Regions from separate parts of the Homo sapiens genome. Here region 2 is linked to region 1. The links are contacts of gene promoters, found by promoter capture Hi-C in blood cells and fetal thymus (Javierre and others, 2016). All regions are on one chromosome and are shown on one strand. The core of a region is centred on a gene start or on the middle of the fragment in contact, and the rest is flanking DNA. Distances in the headings are between cores, read along the strand shown.

Region 1 (2,569 bases), core at 1-2,500:
GACAAAGCCAGACTCCATCTCAAAAACATAAACAAAATAGAAAGGAAGCAAATTAAATTACGCTTTTGAAAGAAAGCAATTTATTAGAAGCCAAGAGAAAAGAAGTGATGTGATGAGAAGTGGAAAAGGACAAGAAGACAACAATGGACTAAGAAAGGAAAAGGACCATAATAAGCATAAGAAAGAAGAGGAATTGTGTGGTGGTCAGAAGAGATATTGTAGAAAGGAGGGAATGGCAGTCATGTGAAACGCGAAGCCGCCATCCCAGTCAATATGGGTGGGATGATGGGAACATTCCCCACATCCTAAAATATTCCCACAATGAGCTGGCTGTTCGAACATTATAAGGCTCTTTTCTGGTGTGTGTGCATGTTGCTTGTATAAGGCATATGCCCCCGACAGAAGTAATGTATTCAACTTTTAAGTCACTTAGTCTTTGAAGAAGCACTTTCAAAAGCGGATTTTTTTTTTTTTTTTTTTCCTGGAGGGAGGCTGACGGGACTAGAACTGAGGAAGAGTGTGGAAGTATGTCATAGCCATGGGCAACAGGTGCTGGCAATGTCAGAGATGAACTCTGCCTATTCACAATACTGTCAAAGTATAATTTTGAAAAAGCTAAAGCCATAATTCCCAGACAATTATCTAGACACTCTTACAAAGTGACGCTGTGTTAACTCGACTCATAAGAAATCAAATGTGTTAATGAAAAAAGAAAGGAACTATTTAGAGCTATTTCAGGCAGGGGGTGAGAAAACGGGGTAAAAGACAGGGGAAGAAAAGAGGGGGAAGAGGCGTTCCTGGAGGCGAGAGAGCCTGAGAAGGTGTGGGAAGCTTCGGGCTGGTGGGGGTGCATCGGGGAGCTGCCGCTGAAGTAACAGGGCTGGACGAGGGAGCCAGGGAGTACGGGGTGGGGGGGAAGACACACCTCCAAATTCAGCATTTCGGACTCTGAGGACTCCTCGGATCCCGCCTCGCCCTCGCCCTGGTCCTCATCTCCGTCCGAGTCCAGCTCCTGATAGCGGTGCATGAGCTGCTGGAGCAGGTAGGAGGAGGCTATGTTAGAGCTGCCTTTCGTCTTCTGCCCCATGGGAAAAGACCAGCAAGGCTGACGCTCTTTTTCTGCGCGAAACTGTAACGATCGGGCTCCAGTTCGGGATCTGCCCAAGCCTCTCAGGAGAGAGGCAGCTCTGGTCCTCAGGAGAGCCCTCTCGGAGGTCGCCATCTTGTTTAGCGGGGTTGCCTAGGAGACTGACCCCAGGCAAGGGGAACCGCGGAGGATTCTGGGGCCTGTAGTCTCCTCCGCGCGTACTCGCCTTCTGCAGGCGGGGCAGTGGGCGCTCCACTTGACTTTTCTTTTTCTCAGTCTCTTCTGTTATTTTTCTCTCTTTGGTCTGTTCTGTTCGCTTATCTTTCCTGTTTTCACCTCTTTTCGCTACACCCCCTTTCTTTGTCTCCAGCTGTTTCCTCCCTACCCTGAGACCCCTCTTAGAGCTTTGTCATCCCACGATAGGATCGCAGGTGCGCCACCGTTGCCGCTTCATTCCCAAAGGGCTCTTTCCGCAGAGTCGTACTTTAGAAGTGTCTAATGTCTCTAAAGCAGTCTGTAGGAAAGCTAGTACCACTGAAATTTATGCAAAGCGCGACGCTAGGAGATGAGGGTGCATATAAGTGAAATAGAAGGCATGGTTCCTGTCCTTATGATTTAATTGCAGATAATAAAGAGAAACTACCAGACGACGCCTGAGAGCTGATTTCCAATTAATTTACATTCCCCACCCCCACCCCCCAATGATAAGCCTTGTCCTTGGGGAGAAAAACTGGCAGTGGTCTTACAATCCAAACAGAGAGAGAAAAAACTGCTGTCAAATTGACACTGTATCTGAAAGCGTCTGAAAAGCTATTAGCATCCCATAAATAATTATATTAGTCAAGTGACCTGCATTGGCAATTATTTTAATCTTGTTGCACAGGCTCTCTTTGCAGTTAAAAAAAATACTCTTTCAAGATAACAAAGCACGATTTTATGCTAGTGTGATTTTATGTGACCCAAATCCCATAGCCTTAAGCTCCACAACGTCGACACTCTATAGAAAAGCAGAATGAAAATTATAGTAACTATTATTGCCATAGTGATGACAATAGAGATCCTTGCAGGGAAGTAGCCCTCATCCTTCTGGCCTTACAGGGCCTTTTCTGCACGCTTCAATGACAGCAGTTGCAAATACAAAATGATCCTGTCAATGGCTGTCAGGGGAGAAGGAGAAAAAATCCTTATGGACACCATCCATTGACGATTATCTTTCTCAGTGCTTGAGGGACCGTTAAAACTGACATAAAGCTTTCAGAATTACCTTCCTTCATTATCTTGCTAGTCATAAATGTAAAGGCCACAAGCAAAATATCTCTTTCTGCCAGGCTCATCTTGCTTTTTGCTTATTTCTTTTTCCAATAAGTAGAGATTCCTCCAAGGGAATTTTCCCCACCCTTACCCTCGTAGGGCCTGGCTTCGGCTAAGTGACATAGGGAAGAATCAGGCAGAAAGTGTAAAAATGCAAATCTCGATCGTTTT
Region 2 (4,695 bases), core at 1,320-3,819, 880 kb after region 1:
GTTCCACTGCACACTGCACGCCAGCCTGGGCAACAGAGGGAAACTCTGTCTCAAAAAAAAAAAAAAAAAAAAGATTTTTATGGTATAAGTACAAAAACTGGGCTATAAAATTAAATAATTCATAGAGAAAGGGAGAGGCAGTTGGGCCTAGTGGTTAAGAATGCAGGACAGGCCGGGCGCCGGGTGGCTCATGCCTGTAATCCCAGCACTTTGGGAGGCCGAGGCGGGCGGATCACGAGGTCAGGAGATCAAGACCATCCTGGCTAACACGGTGAAACCCTGTATCTACTAAAAAAAAATACAAAAAATTAGCCGGGCGTGTTGGCGGGCGCCTGTAGTCCCAGCTACTCGGGAGCCTGAGTCAGGAGAATGGCGTGAACCCGGGAGGTGGAGCTTGCAGTGAGTCGAGATCGCGCCACTGCACTCCAGCCTGGGCGACAGAGCAAGACTCTGTCTCAAAAAAAAAAAAAAAAAAAAAAAAGAATGTAGGACATAGGATAAAAAGTGTGTGATCATCTCAACTGTTGCAGAAAAAAGCTTTGTCAAAATCCAAAACACTCTTACAATAAAAACACTCAGAAAACTAGGGATAAAAGGGAACTTCTTATAGGCTATAAAGGGTACTTATGAACAACCCACAGCAATCATCATAGTCGATGAAAAACTGAAAGCCTTCCCACTAATATTAGACACAAAAAAAGGATAACCATTTTTTTGCCACTTCTATTCAACAAAGTACTGCAAGTTATAGCCAGAGCAATGAGGCAAGAACATGAATAAGTCATCCAGATTGGAAAGGAAGAAATAAAACAATATCTATTTTTGGATGATATGATCTTATATATAGAATATCCTAGAGAATACACACAAAAAACTATTAGAGCTAATAAAATATTCAGCAAAGTTGCAGAATACAAAATCAATAGCAACAGAAAATCAGTGGTATTTCTGTAAACTGGCAATAAACTATCCAAAAAGGAAATTTACACAACAATTCCATTTCCAATAGCAGCAAAAAGAATAAAATGCCTACGAATAAACTTAGCCATGAAAGTGAAAGACTGCTACACTGAAAGCTACAAAACATTGCTGCAAGAAATACAAGAAGACTCAAATAAATGGAAAGACATCCATGTTCATGGGTTGGAAAACTCAATATTGTTAAGATGGCCAAACTCCCAAAGCTATCTACAAATTCAATGTAATTCCGATAAAAATTCACTAGGCTTTTTGTGCAGAAACAGAAAAACTGATCCTGAAATTCATACGGAAATTAAAAGAGCCCCAAATAGCCAAAGCAATCTTGGAAAAAAAAAAAAATCAATGTGGAGGTCTCACACTTCCTGATTTCAAAACTTACTAAAAATCCGCAGTAATCAAAATAGCATGGTACTTGCATAAAAATAAACACATAGATAAATATAGTAGAATAAGCCATACAGAAATAAGCCTATTCATCTATGATCAATTGATTTTCTTTTTTTTTTTTTTTAGACGAAGTCTCTTTCTGTCACCCAGGCTGGAGTGCAGTGGCTCAATCTCAGCTCACTGTAACCTCTGACTCCCAGGTTCAAGCAATTCTTGTGCCTCAGCCTTCCAAGTAGTAGACACGGGGTTTTGCCATGTTGGCCAGGCTGTTCTTGAACTCCTGACCTCAGGTGATCTGCCCACCTCAGCCTCCCAAAGTGCTGGGATTACAGGCATGACCCACCGCACCCAAACAGTCAATTGATTTTCAACAAAGCTGACAGTACCATTCAATAAGGAAAGAATAGTCTCCTCAATAGATGGTGTTGAAAACTGGATAAGCATAAGCAAAAAAGTGAAGATGGACCCTACCTCATACAATATGCAAAAATTAACTAAAAGTGGATCAAAGACCTAAATATGAGATAAAACTCTTAGAACAAAATACAAGGGTAAATTTTCATGATTCTTAGCTATGACATCAAAAGCATAAGCAACAAAAGAAAAAATAGGTATATTGGGCTTTATTAAAATTAAAAACCCTCATACATCAAAGTACACTTTTCAAGAAAGTGAAAAGACAGGCACAGGATGGGAGAGAATAAAAGCAAATCACATACAGTATCTGGTAAGAGTTCTGTATCTAGACTATGTGAAGAACTCTTACAACTCAACACAAAAGGAAATAAAAATTAAAACCTAGGCAATGGATGTGAATAGACATTTCTCCAAAGAAGATACACAAATGGCCAAAAAGCACATAAAAAGATGCTCGACATCATTAATCATTATAGGAAAATGCAAAACCATAATGAGATACCACTTCACACCCACTAGGTTGGTTACAATTTTTTTAATGGAAAATAAATGTTGGCAAGTATGTGGAGAAACTGGAACCCTTGTACATTTATTTTGGGAATGTGAAATGGTTCAGCCATTGCAGAAAACAATTTGGTGGTTCCTTAAAAAACTAAACATAAAGTTACCATATGACCCAGCAATTCCGCTCATAGGTATATGCACAAGAGAATTGAAAACAAGTGTTCGGAAAATAACTTGTATACAAACATTCATAAAAGCACCATTCAAAATAGCCTAAAGGTGGAAGCAGTCCAAATGTTTAACAATGAATGAACTGCAACAATATGACTGTATCAGTGTGGTATAAACAAAATGTGCTATATCCATACAATGTAATATTATTCACACATAAAAATGAAAAAAGTACTGATATATGCTACAATATTGATAAATCTTGAAATCATGCTAACAGAAAAAAGCCAGACACAAAAGGCCATATTGTGTATAACCCCATTTATCTGAAATATCCAGAACAGACAAATTCATAGAGACAGAAAGCAGATCAGTGGTTGCCAAGGGCTGCAGGGCAGGAAGAAATGAGGAATGACTGCTCAATGGATACAGAGTTTCATTTTGGAGTGATGAAATGTTCTGGAACTACAGTCAATGGTTGCATAGCTTGTGAATGTATTAAAGGTCAGTAAATTATAAACTTTAAAGTAGTCAAAAGTCATAAATTTTATGTTATGTGTTTTTCACCACACCTTAAAAAAAAATGCAGTTTGTGTAGCAGGATGGCCTAGATTCAATCCCAGCTTTCCACTTCCTGGCTAGATTACCTAGGACAAGTTACTTAACTTTACTCTGCCTCAGTTTCTTTATCTGTAAAGCAGGTGGTCATTGTACTTCACATAGAGAGTTATTGTAAGAATATGTGAGATATACATTATCAGCACTTGGTAAATATCAGCTATTATTACTAAAGTATGGTACTAATTTTGTTGAAAATACATCTCTGGGGTTATTGCAAAGTTGTTTTGAGCGTCAATAACATGGGTAATTTTTTTTTTTTTTTTTACACTTTTCTGTGTTTTACAAAGTTTCCGGGATGGGCACAGTGGCTCATGCCTGTAATCCCAGCACTTTGGGAGGCCGAGGCAGGTGGATCACCTGAGGTTAGGAGTTCGAGACCAGCCTGGCCAACATGGCAAAACCCCGTCTCTACTAAAAACATAAAAACTAGTGGGGCGTGTTGGCAAGCTCCTGTAATCCCAGCTGCTCTGGGGGCTGAGGCAGGAGAATTGCTTGAACCAGGGAGGCGGATGTTGCAGTCAGCCAAGATTGTGCCACTGCACTCCAGCCTGGGTGACAGAAGGAGACTCCATCTAAAAAAAAAAAAAAAAAAAAAAAAAATTTCCAGGTGTTGCTTTTTATAAGCAGAAATACACAAAAGTACTTCCTTTAAAGGAGAATTGGATAAGTGTCAGAAACAATGGCCTACTTTCATCACAAAATGGAAATACAATTAAGTGATAAATAAATTAGCACACCCAAATTAATTAATTTATTTTATTTTATTTTTTTCAGACGGAGTTCTGCTCTTGTTGCCCAGGCTGGAGTGACGCGATCTCGACTCACTGCAACCTTCACCTCCCAAGTTCAAGTGATTCTCCTGCCTCAGCCTCCTGAGTAGCTGCGATTACAGGCACATGCCACCATGCCTGGCTAAAACCAGTATATATGCAGGTCTTGTTTTATGTTTTCTAAACCAGGGCAGACCGTTTCCTAATATTACATTTGTAAATATACCTAGGGGCTCTTAAAGCCATGGGAACATCCAATTAAATTAAAATGCTTTGACCTCTTTGGATGAATGGCTCTATATAAATCCAAGGTATTGATATTCTTATTATTGTGGATAAATGAAATGTGTGAATGAGGCTAGCTCAGCAGCAGAGTGGCTCCCTGAGATTCATAAAAACTGCCCAGGTTTGGGTGTCTATAGAACACCCAACACAGACATAGGAGATTTGAAAACAAACAAACAAAAAATATGAAGTGTCTCATAATATCAGCCATGTGGCCAGAACCCTGGAAAGGGACTATTTCCCTGACCCCATCAATATTGCCTGCTTACAAGTCAGCTCAGCTAAGATATTAAAAATGTGCTTTAGCCAAGGCTGAGTAAATCAAGGTATAGGATACAGATTATAAACTGAAGGGAAAAGTCAATGACTCTGTCATCATAGAAAAAGCAACTGTTTTATTTTATTCAGGAATTAAATTTTATGTTAGCTTTTTCAATTACATTGAATTAAATAAATATAAGCTTAGTTAAACATATACCCATAGTATATTCTATTTGGAGGAAAATGTTATAAGTAGATTACAATAGGCTGTTAATTTTCTTGTCCATATTCCCAATAC

The links. The method cuts DNA at HindIII sites, captures the fragments that hold promoters and counts their contacts. A CHiCAGO score of 5 or more calls a contact.
Region 2: a fragment that was not itself captured here is called in contact with the fragment with the promoter of LRGUK in region 1 in 8 of 17 cell types (fetal thymus, total B cells, monocytes and 5 more); the score reaches 11.7 in fetal thymus.

What each region holds. Positions count from the first base shown.
Region 1 is chr7:134,126,021-134,128,589 of GRCh38, reverse strand. It overlaps LRGUK (leucine rich repeats and guanylate kinase domain containing), which reads right to left and starts at 1,250. Exons shown (of 20, transcript NM_144648.3): 1 at 926-1,250. The coding sequence starts at 1,222. RefSeq lists enhancers at 968-1,237, 1,348-1,397. The HindIII fragment of the contact is 1,507 bases long and covers 834-2,340 here.
Region 2 is chr7:133,246,869-133,251,563 of GRCh38, reverse strand. No RefSeq gene overlaps it. Among named protein-coding and RNA genes, the nearest start is that of EXOC4, 3.9 kb to the left of the region's middle. The HindIII fragment of the contact is 4,060 bases long and covers 540-4,599 here.